Regions from separate parts of the Homo sapiens genome. Here region 2 is linked to region 1. The links are contacts of gene promoters, found by promoter capture Hi-C in human tissues and cell types (Jung and others, 2019). All regions are on one chromosome and are shown on one strand. Each heading gives the region's core, a stretch centred on a gene start or on the middle of the fragment in contact. The rest is flanking DNA. Distances are from core to core; before and after follow the strand shown.

The links. Contacts are between HindIII fragments. The study calls those that stand out against the background at their distance.
Region 2: a fragment that was not itself captured here is called in contact with the fragment with the promoter of SOCS1 in region 1 in 1 of the 25 tissues and cell types used here (heart right ventricle).

The regions. Positions count from the first base shown.
Region 1 is chr16:11,254,340-11,259,648 of GRCh38, reverse strand. It overlaps SOCS1 (suppressor of cytokine signaling 1), which reads left to right and starts at 3,445. Exons shown (of 2, transcript NM_003745.2): 1 at 3,445-3,570; 2 at 4,121-5,232. The coding sequence starts at 4,171. The coding sequence ends at 4,806. All of the region lies in intron 1 of LOC105371082 (a long non-coding RNA gene), which reads right to left. RefSeq lists an enhancer at 669-898 and silencers at 2,800-2,999, 3,250-3,989, 4,090-4,139, 4,150-4,299, 4,710-4,799. The HindIII fragment of the contact is 22,451 bases long and covers 1-5,309 here.
Region 2 is chr16:11,450,154-11,455,538 of GRCh38, reverse strand. It overlaps LOC400499 (putative uncharacterized protein LOC400499), which reads left to right. Exons shown (of 67, transcript NM_001370704.1): 29 at 4,719-4,930. Among named protein-coding and RNA genes, the nearest start is that of RMI2, 110 kb to the right of the region's middle. The HindIII fragment of the contact is 4,697 bases long and covers 1,212-5,385 here.

The sequences.
Region 1 (5,309 bases), core at 2,196-4,695:
AACTGAGGCACAGAAAAGCTAAGAAGCTGGCCCCAGGCCACATACTTATGAAATGACCCATTTAAATTCAGACCAGCGGTCAGCAGAATCCACACTGTGAGCCCCACTGCTCGGGGTTCCCAGGGGCACAGACTCCCATGGGAACCTTCCCGACACATGGGTTAGAGGAAAAGCAGGGCTGAGGAATTCCGGGGCAGAGGCTAGTTTCACGATTACACACCCTGGCCAGGAGCTACTTTTCCCAGCAAGGCGCCACCAAAGCCGGAAAGAGAAACTGAAAAGCTAAGTGCCATAAGCCACCAGGATCTTGACTTCCCCCAGATGCTGGCTGGGCCCCTCACATTTGGGGTACGAGGATCTGCCAAGATAGGGAGGAGAATGTTTCCACACATCTGGCTGTGGCTGTGGTTTAGTAAGCTGTGGATATAGGGCTGGTCCATCCGCCCTGTGACAAGAGGTCATTGTGCCAAGCACCGACTCCATGCCTGGCATTTTGCCCTTGGCTCTGCATGTCTGGCTGCTCTGTGAGGTACGAGATGTCCAGAGATCACTTTGCAGTTGGGGCAAATCAGGTCCCAAGAGGACAGGTCACTTGCCCAAGGTCATGCAGCAGGTCTGGGGTCAGAGCCTGGTCCCATCCTACCGAGCACTCTGAGCCCCTCAGGGTTTCGCACTGCCTGGCTTCCTGTGAGCCTGGTGCCCAGCCCTCCAGCAGAACAGCCCACAAGGTGGATGCTTGTCAACCAGCAGATTTCCTTTTCTCTTTCGGCATCTGGATTTGGTTTCATTTTGAACACAGGACTTCAGAAAATGAAACCAAAGCTGTCTGTCACTGGTGGCAGTGAGGAGAACCCACGTGTGCTGAGTGTACCTTTAGAAGCTTTCCTGCTCCCTTGCTGTGCCTTCCCTGGCCTGTGGTCCCTGGACTAGGGCTTCAAACATAGATATAAGGCAGTGCTTTGGGAAGCCAGGGCAGGAGGGTCACTAAAGGACAGGAGTTCGAGACCAGCCTGGGCAACGTAGTGAGACCCCATCCCTACAAAAAATTTAAAAAATTAGCCGGGTGTGGTGGCATGTGCCTGTAGTCTCAGCTACTCAGGAGGCTGAGATGGGAGAATCTCTTGAGCCCAGGAGGTCGAGGCTATAGTGCCTCCTCGATCCTATCACTACACTCCAGCCTGAGCAACAGAGCTACACTCCATCTCTTTAAAAAAATGGACACAGGGGTTGAAGCCATGCGTCTGTGGGCTCCAACACACTGCCACACCCACAGGCACCCTCAGATGAACAACAAACATCTACCGACTGCTTATTAGACACTACGGGCTGTTTTAAGCACCTGACCCATAATCACTCATTTAATTCCCATACAACCCCGGGATGGAGGTACTATTTATTTATTTTTTTTTGAGACAGGGTCTTAGTCTGTTGCCCCGGCTGGAGTGCAGTGACACAATCGTGGCTCACTGCAGCCTTGACCTCCTGGGCTCAGGCAATCCTCCTGCTTCAGCCTCCCAAGTAGCTGGGACTGCAGGTGCAATCCACTACGACTGGCTGATTTTTGTACTATTTTTTTTTTTTTTTTTTTTTTTTTGTAGAGAGGGGGTCTCACTTTGTTGCCCAGGCTGTTCTCAAACTCCTGGGCTCAAGCAATCCTCCTGTCTTGGCCTTCCAAGTGCTGGGATTATAGGCATGAGCTACTGCGCCCTGCTAGAGGTACTATTATTATCCCCATTTCACAGATAAAGAAACCATGGCAGAGAGGTTAATTACATGCTCAAGGTCACAAGAATAGAAAGGTGCAGATTTGGAACTGGGTCTCCTTGTATTCCATCACCCTCCACAGAGTGTGGCCTCCAGCAGATGTTCAGTGGACATCTCTCGAATGATCACACACCTGACCTCTGGTGCAGGCAAGGTTCTGCATCTTCTCTCACCCCCTCACGCACGCGCACGCACACACACGCACAACCTAGGAGGCTACACCAATGACCACCACCAGCCCTGGCCACATGCAGATTCAGGGCACTGATGGGGTGCTAAGCTGGGCTGATTCTGGGCCACTCCCTGTGTTCAGGAGGTTAATAAGGACCTAGGCTCTGCCTGGGGAAAGAGGTATCGTGGGGCCAGGGAGGCGGGAAGGGACTGGGCACCAGGGCTTCCAGGAGAGAAGCCGTCTGAGAGCTGTCTGTAGAGGGCAGTGTGTCCCAGTGTGAGGCCAGTAACCAAGTGCCCAGCCTAGCCAGGTTTTTATGTGGCCCCTTGTGATGCTGGGGCTCCTCACATGCCTTCATTCAAAAATACACGGAGCAGCCAGGCACCTACTCCATGGCCTCGCACGACAATCGGAATCACTAAATCACAAACACGTGTGCAAATTACAGCCCCGACCACCGACCGCCCACCATCCCAAGCCCCGGCCGTGTGTGTGGTGGGAAGGCAGTCTTTGAAGGGCAGATGCCTGACGGAGCAGTAGGAGGGGGAAATCTATGAGGAAGGGGTCGGGGGAGAGGAGGGCTAGGAAACCAGGTTTGGGGATTCATCACGTCTGAGAATGCACCATTTTTTCACTGGGCTCCAATTTGATGTCGTCCAGCTGCACCTCTCCCCAAAATGAAGACGGGGAAGGCGAGATCCAGGTCCAGAGCTCCCAATCTGCAAGCCATTGCAAATCCCAGCCCCTCCCCAGCCTCAGTTTCTTCCGCAGCCGGGTAGTGGGAGCGCAGGGAGGGCAGTCGAGGCCACCAGGGACCTTGCCCGGCCCCGCCCAGTTTCCGAGGAACTGGGCCGGGGTGGAGGCGCCCGCGCCGCCAGGGGTTCCTCTGAAGCCTGTGGTCAGGCCGCCGCTTCCCGGGAAGCCCGAGCCAAGACCAGAGACCGCGGCCGGCCGGGGCTTCGGGACAGCAGGGCGGGCGACTGAGGGCGTCGACGGCGGGTGGAGCAGGGGCTAGGAGGGGGTCTACGGGTGGGGTCAGGCTCAGGGTTGGGGACACCTTCTGTGGCCTCCTAGGGGGATCTGGCTGCAGGGGAGGAGAGGACAGGGCTCTGCCCCCGGCGGGTGTGGAGACAGCTGGGGCGGAGGAGGGTGTGTCAGGGCGCGTCCCAAGAGGGCCTGGCGGCAGAAAGTGGAACCCGAGGTAGCGGGGCAAAATCGGGGTCGCCAAGTCCGAAGGAGGGGTCCGAGAAGTGGCCGGAAGGCGCAGGGTCGGGGCCAGAGCCCCTCGAGAGGCGGGTGCTGGGGCAGGTGCGAACAGGCGGGCAGAGGGCCCCGCGGGAGGGTCCAGAAGAGAGGGAAACAGGGCCGAAGCGGTCCTCGCCGGACGCCACCGCGGAAAGAGAAACCAAAAGTGGAGCTGGGGGCGGGGCCGGCAGGGGGCGGGGCCTCCCGCCGTCGCCAGCCCCGCCTCCGAGCCGGTTTAAAAGACTGGCGCAGGGGCGGGCGCCGAACAGAGCGAGCTGCGGCCGTGGCAGCTGCACGGCTCCTGGCCCCGGAGCATGCGCGAGAGCCGCCCCGGAGCGCCCCGGAGCCCCCCGCCGTCCCGCCCGCGGCGTCCCGCGCCCCGCCGCCAGGTGAGCCGGGCCCTGGGCGAGGAGGCGGGAGGGAGGAGGGAGGGGAGTCCAGGGCAGCCAGGAGTCGGGCGAGCCTCGGGGGCTGCAGAATGGGGTCGCGGCCGCGATGCCCCTGACCCTCGCCGGCCCCACCCAGGCCGCCCCCCGCGCGCGGGGCTCCCGCAGCACAGCCTTTCTCCGGCCCTAGCCCAAATCGCCCAGACCAGGCGCGGATCCCAGCCTGGCCAGCAGGCGGCGGGCGCGGGGCGGCGAGCCGGGGCCGGACGGCTGGAGCCAGAACCGGCTGCTCTCCACGCCCCCCTCTCGGTGCTGCCCGGAGGCCGGACTCCGCCTCCACCGAGCCCCCACCCGCCGGGAAGAGCTCCGCGGAGTACAGAGCCCATTTTCTAGCTGTGTCCACTGAGGCTGAACGGATCCGCGCGGACTTGGTGCTCCGTGCTCGCCCCCTAGGGCCGGGTCCGCCGGGAGCGCCGCCCTCCGGAGTTGTCCGGCCGGCGCACACCTGCCCGGCCCCGCAGCGCCCCAGCTCACCTCTTTGTCTCTCCCGCAGCGCACCCCCGGACGCTATGGCCCACCCCTCCGGCTGGCCCCTTCTGTAGGATGGTAGCACACAACCAGGTGGCAGCCGACAATGCAGTCTCCACAGCAGCAGAGCCCCGACGGCGGCCAGAACCTTCCTCCTCTTCCTCCTCCTCGCCCGCGGCCCCCGCGCGCCCGCGGCCGTGCCCCGCGGTCCCGGCCCCGGCCCCCGGCGACACGCACTTCCGCACATTCCGTTCGCACGCCGATTACCGGCGCATCACGCGCGCCAGCGCGCTCCTGGACGCCTGCGGATTCTACTGGGGGCCCCTGAGCGTGCACGGGGCGCACGAGCGGCTGCGCGCCGAGCCCGTGGGCACCTTCCTGGTGCGCGACAGCCGCCAGCGGAACTGCTTTTTCGCCCTTAGCGTGAAGATGGCCTCGGGACCCACGAGCATCCGCGTGCACTTTCAGGCCGGCCGCTTTCACCTGGATGGCAGCCGCGAGAGCTTCGACTGCCTCTTCGAGCTGCTGGAGCACTACGTGGCGGCGCCGCGCCGCATGCTGGGGGCCCCGCTGCGCCAGCGCCGCGTGCGGCCGCTGCAGGAGCTGTGCCGCCAGCGCATCGTGGCCACCGTGGGCCGCGAGAACCTGGCTCGCATCCCCCTCAACCCCGTCCTCCGCGACTACCTGAGCTCCTTCCCCTTCCAGATTTGACCGGCAGCGCCCGCCGTGCACGCAGCATTAACTGGGATGCCGTGTTATTTTGTTATTACTTGCCTGGAACCATGTGGGTACCCTCCCCGGCCTGGGTTGGAGGGAGCGGATGGGTGTAGGGGCGAGGCGCCTCCCGCCCTCGGCTGGAGACGAGGCCGCAGACCCCTTCTCACCTCTTGAGGGGGTCCTCCCCCTCCTGGTGCTCCCTCTGGGTCCCCCTGGTTGTTGTAGCAGCTTAACTGTATCTGGAGCCAGGACCTGAACTCGCACCTCCTACCTCTTCATGTTTACATATACCCAGTATCTTTGCACAAACCAGGGGTTGGGGGAGGGTCTCTGGCTTTATTTTTCTGCTGTGCAGAATCCTATTTTATATTTTTTAAAGTCAGTTTAGGTAATAAACTTTATTATGAAAGTTTTTTTTTTAAAAAAAAATAAGTTTTCTAGCGAGTGTGCTTTGGCCAAAAGTTTAACTTGGTTCTGAACAGGTCCAGGGGAGAGGG
Region 2 (5,385 bases), core at 2,311-4,810, 200 kb before region 1:
GGTCTTGAACTCCTGAGCTCAAGTGATCCACCTTCTTTGGCCTCCCAAAGTGCTGGTATTACAGGTGTGAGCCACTGTGCCTGGCCCCTACCCCAAGTCTTGCTTAAAACAGTAAGCACGCTAAATTCTTTTAGCCATTTTTTCTGTTTATATTCTCCATATTTAAAAATAATATAATCATGCTGTTATTTCTTGATTTTTCAGCTTTAGGCCTTCTCCATAGGTTTCTTACTAGAGAAGATAAGAATTTAACTCTTAGATTGGTGCCCCTTTCAAATACATATTCTCTTCCATTTTCTTAAAAGAGTTACCTTTTGTTAACATCTGATGCTTACCCAATTATAACTATAAATGTCTTACATAGCTGAGATATATGGTGTCCTATCATGGTGACCTATTGTTTTTTTCTGGAGTTTTGTAATTGCCTTTATTTTTCTATTTGATTAGTTTTCTATAATTTTTGTCTACTAATTACAGAATTTTCAGCAGCATTGCAAAACTTTTTTCCAGGTGGTCAGACACATCAGATTGTTCATTGACTTCAATTAGTTTTGTTATTTTTCTTGGGGACCCTCTTCCTGGAGCCTGAGTCCTGCTCCAAAGACGACCAGTTGCACAGCTGTGGTTCTGCAGCCTCCCTTTTCCATCAACCTGGGAATTCCTTTTACTTCTCCTCTGGGTCACAATCCCTTTTTCTTAAACCTGTGTCATATCTCTTGGTTTATTCCTTTGTTCTGATGGAGTACATCTTTCAGTAGCTTCCAAAGAAAGCATACATTGGAGGTGTATTCATTTCCAAGGGTTCTGTAACTAATTACTGAATTGGGCAGCTTAAAGCAACAGAAATTTGTTCTTTCACAGTTCTGAAGGCTGTAAGTTTGAGTCAAGGAGCCACCAGGGCCATGTTCTCTCTAAGGCTCTGGGGACAACCCTCCCTTGCCTTTTCCAAGCATTTGGTGATGGATGTTGAAGCTTGGTGTTCCTTGGCTTACAGCCGCATCCTCTCTAATCTCTGCCTCTTTTGTCATGTGGCATTCTCCCTGTGTGTGTGTGTCTGTGTCCAGATTTTTCTTTTCTAATAGAGACATCAGTTCTATTGGGTTAAGGGCATGTCCTATTCTCGTATGACCTCATCTTGACTTAATGATATCTGCAATGACCCCATTTTCAGTTAAGGTCGCATTGGGAGGGATTGGGGATTAAGACTTCAATTAATCTTTTGGGGGAACACAAGTTAACCCATCACAGAATACAAACATTTTGAGACCCTAAATGTTGAAAATGTCTTCATTCTACTGGGACAGTTTGAGTGGAGAATTTTAGGTTGGAAATAATTTTCTCTTGGGATTTTGAAGGCATTGCTCCATTGTTTTGAATTAATTGGGAGATCTGATGCTTCTTCTGATTTATCATCTTTTGTATGTGACCCTTTTCTCACTGTCTTAGAAGCTTTTAGGAGCTCGTCTTAGTCCTGTTGGTGGTAAATCTCATTATGAGGTACCTTGGTATGGATCTATGTTCTTCCATTGTACTGGGTCCTTAGCATAGGGTGTTTCAATTTGGAAACATGTCATTTTGGTCTGTGTAATTTTCTCTTACAGTTTCTTTGATAATTTCCTTTCTTTGTTCTGAAATTCCTATTGGTTAGATGTTGGTCCTCAGAAAACTGAGCTTCTAATGTTTTCTCTGTTTCTCTTTTCAAACTCGTTTTTCTTTTTTTCTTTTTCTTTTTTTTGGAGAATGGGGTCTCAGTATGTTGCCCAGGCAGGTCTCAAACTCCTGGGCTCAAGTGATCGTCCTGCCTCTGCTTGCCAAAGTGCTGGGATTAGAGGTGTGGGCCACCGCACCTGGCCTCCTTGTTTCTCTTTTGTTCTATTTCTTTGTCCTTTGGTTCTGTTCAAGAGCCGATTTCCTCGACTTCATATGCTAGCCCTTCTACTAGCATTTTTATTTTGGATTATCTTATATTTTCAAGAGCTCTTTTTTGTTGTTGTTGTTCCTTTCTTACAGCGTCCTGTTCCATGAATGCAATTGTCTTCTCTTAGAGTATAAGTTACAGAATTTCAGGGAGTTTTATCTGTTGCCTCGGAGTTTCCTTTTTCTTTTTATTTCTGTATTTCCTGTTGGAGGCTTTCCCCCAAATGCTAAGCCAGCCTTGGATATGTGCTTATGCTTGAGTCGGCTGCTCAAAATATTGGTTACCCTGTTTTCAAACAGGGTAATTATGTTTTCAGTGTACTCAGAAGCTGCCTGAGGACTTAATTAAAACCAGCAGTTTAGCAAAGTTAGGGATCTGATATTCTGGAGCACAGATTTAAAAAAATCTATTCTCCTTAAAATCCTTTTATGAAACTTCGAGTAAGAGACCCGCTGAAACAGAGAGGAGAGAACACATTTCCACACTTGGCCACCTCTTGACTCTCCTGGATCCCATTAGGGGAGAGTGAGTGCTAGTTCTCTGCCAACCCAGGATTAGGCCCTAAGGCTGCCGTAAAAAGGATCCCAGGAGAAAACTCAGGAATAAAAGTGGAGAAAGTGAGACATCTGACTAAAATGACTAGAAGCCCTCAGGAAGTAAAAAAGGAAAAAGAAACCAAGAACCAGAAAACTCATCGGACCAGTTAATTCACCTTTGGAGTAACTGGAGATCCAGAGCTTCCTAAAAGATTAGAAATCTTCTGAAATTGAAGAGTTGAGGAAGAAGAATCAGGAATGGCCTAAAGCAGTTGCCCAGTGTCTCACACAGAAGGGCATGGAGAAGAACTGGCAGGAATGTCCCCAGATGGTGACAAGTTTGCAGGACTTTTACTGAATGACCCATGAGGCCACCCAGAGGCCCAGGAGCCAGCCCTGGCCCTGTCCTCATGGAAAGACTCTACACAGGATTTTGGGATACAAATGGAAGGACAACATGTTTTCAGGTCCTGCCTGGGCAGATGCAGTTGTCCTTCCAGCTCCGGAGTTCCAAACCCAGGCCTGTGCCATCCCCATTCACTTTGAGGGGCCGCTGTGGGCTCCCTGACCCATGAGCTGTGTGCAGGATCCTCGGGTACCCAGAGGGGCGCCCTTGATCATGAACCCCGCGTGTGGTCAGCTCTAGGTCTGTTTCCTGCCTTTCCTCCAGCAGCCCCTAGCCTCCCGCAGCAGTGGCCACTCTCTTCTGGTTCTGATCCAGGTCTTGAACTTGGGAGACAATTAGAACCTGGATCCCAATTCTGTCTGAAAGCAACAGAATAACATAATCTATACACTGGCGCATGACTCTTGGCCCAGCCCAATGTAATGAGAAATAAATGAATGACCATGACCTCAAAAGCAAAAAAAAAAAAAAAACAAACAAAAAAACTGAGCAACCAGACAGATGTTCTGGAGGGCCTGAGTTTGCCAGATCACAACTGTGATCTATAAAGTGAAATAAGATCTTTATCACCTTGAAAGAACATGAATGAAATAGAAAACTAATTGGAGACTCAAAACTTGTTTGGAAAGAGGCGCTATACATAGGTGGGGCATGTGCAGACCGGTGGGTTTCCCTGTCAATCAAGCAACTGGGTGGGGACCTGGCTCTCCAGGGATCCGTGCGTTCCTTCTGTTCTTCTGTGGTGCCATCTTCCCGCTTCCCGTGGGAAGGGAGCAACTGGGCAGGGACCAGACTGCCCACTCTTCAATGTCTCCCTATTCTCAACTCCGCGGCTCCTCCTTCCCGTCACTGTGTCTTTGTCCCTGCATCTGAGCCTGTCTGCCTCAGTTTCCCCAGACAGTAAATCTCCTGTCTCCAGCAGGGGTGGGTTGCCTGCCCCTTTGATCAACTCCCCCTTGTCTGTCATTTAGGTATCAGGTAAATTGTCACTTCCTCCTAGAAGCCTTTGCTGACCTAACCAATTTTTATCAAATTCCTTCTTTATTGTTTTTCTTCACAGCCCTCAGCATTTCTACCTGTGTTTTTTGTTTGGTTTTTTGTTTGTTTGTTTGTTTGTTTGTTTGTTTTGAGACAGGGTCTCCCTCTGTTGCCCAGGCTGGAGTGCATTGCACCATTACAGCCACTGCAGCCTCCACCTCAGCCTCCCAAGTAGCTGGGATATAGGTGAGCACCACCGTGCCTGGCTAATTTTTGTATTTGTTGTAGAGATGGGGTCTCGCTTTGTTGCCCAGGCTAGACTCAAACTCCTAGACTCAAGTGATCCTCCTGCCTTGGCCTCCCAAAGTGCTGGGATTACAGGCATGAGCCACTGCGCTTGACCTTCCAATGTTTTATTATGAAAAAATTGCATTCAGAAGAGTTGGATGAATGGTACAGTGATTACCAGCATCCTCTCATACTAGGTTCTGCTATTAACAGTTGACCCCACTTGCCTCATCACCTCTCTCTCTGCATATCCAGCCCTCTTATTTTTTCCGTGCAGTTGAAAGTAAATTGTAGACATGGATACCTCTCACTCCTAAACGTTTCAGCATGTGTTTCATTAAGCACAGTGAAATGTATAAATCTCCATGGTGCGATTGGATGAGTTTTGACAGGTGTATACATCTGGGTGATCCAAACACCTGTCATGAGTCACAACATTACCAACGTCCTAGAAAGTTCCCTCATGCCTAGTTATTCCCAGTTTTGAGATTTGTCCATTGCGGCTGTGATGAGACTCTCGGGACCTCCAGCTGCCTGCTAGAAGCTTCCTCTCTACCCCGTGTACCAGATTCTCCTTCTTTGTTGCTTGCAGGAGCCTTGAACCTGGATAGTCCATGGCTGATGGTCTCTGCAGCTCACAGGCTATACTGGCCACACCGAGCTGTGTTCCAGGCTGTCCTGGAGCTAACGCTGGGCAAGGCCTGGACCCTAAAGGACCTGGTGGTCAGCGTGGGCTGCAGGAGTCAGGGCCCCAACAGGGAAGGCAAGATCCAGGTTTACACCGCAGCTACCACCTACCTCCGGGTGAGCAGTGCTCGGCCCCCGATATATGTCTGGTCCCCTGCCACTGAGATCTTTTTCTGGTGCAGAGGCGGATGAAAGCTGAGGTCTGTGGGCAGATAGCAGCTCACAGGTGTGTGAAGTCTGGCCCTCCCAGTGCCTGCAACTATCAGAGTTTAGTTCCTAAGTGACGTAGAAGAATTAGACCTAAAAAAAGAAAATCTAGATTTCCCACATCCCTGCTCGGCAGATGACGGGGAGAGAAATATAAAATAGGAAAGCAAGTCAAACGGGACTTTGGAAACAGATGGACATTCGGCTTTTGCCAAAAAAACAGAGTGAAAATTTCTAGGACGTAAGTCGGTTTGATGCCGACTACTGACTGTCATGATGTTGCTTCTCTGCACACGTTTGGTGCAGAAGCAAGAACAGGTTTGGGAGAAAAGCCATGAGTGTCATCTGCAGGGCTGAGGGAGCCT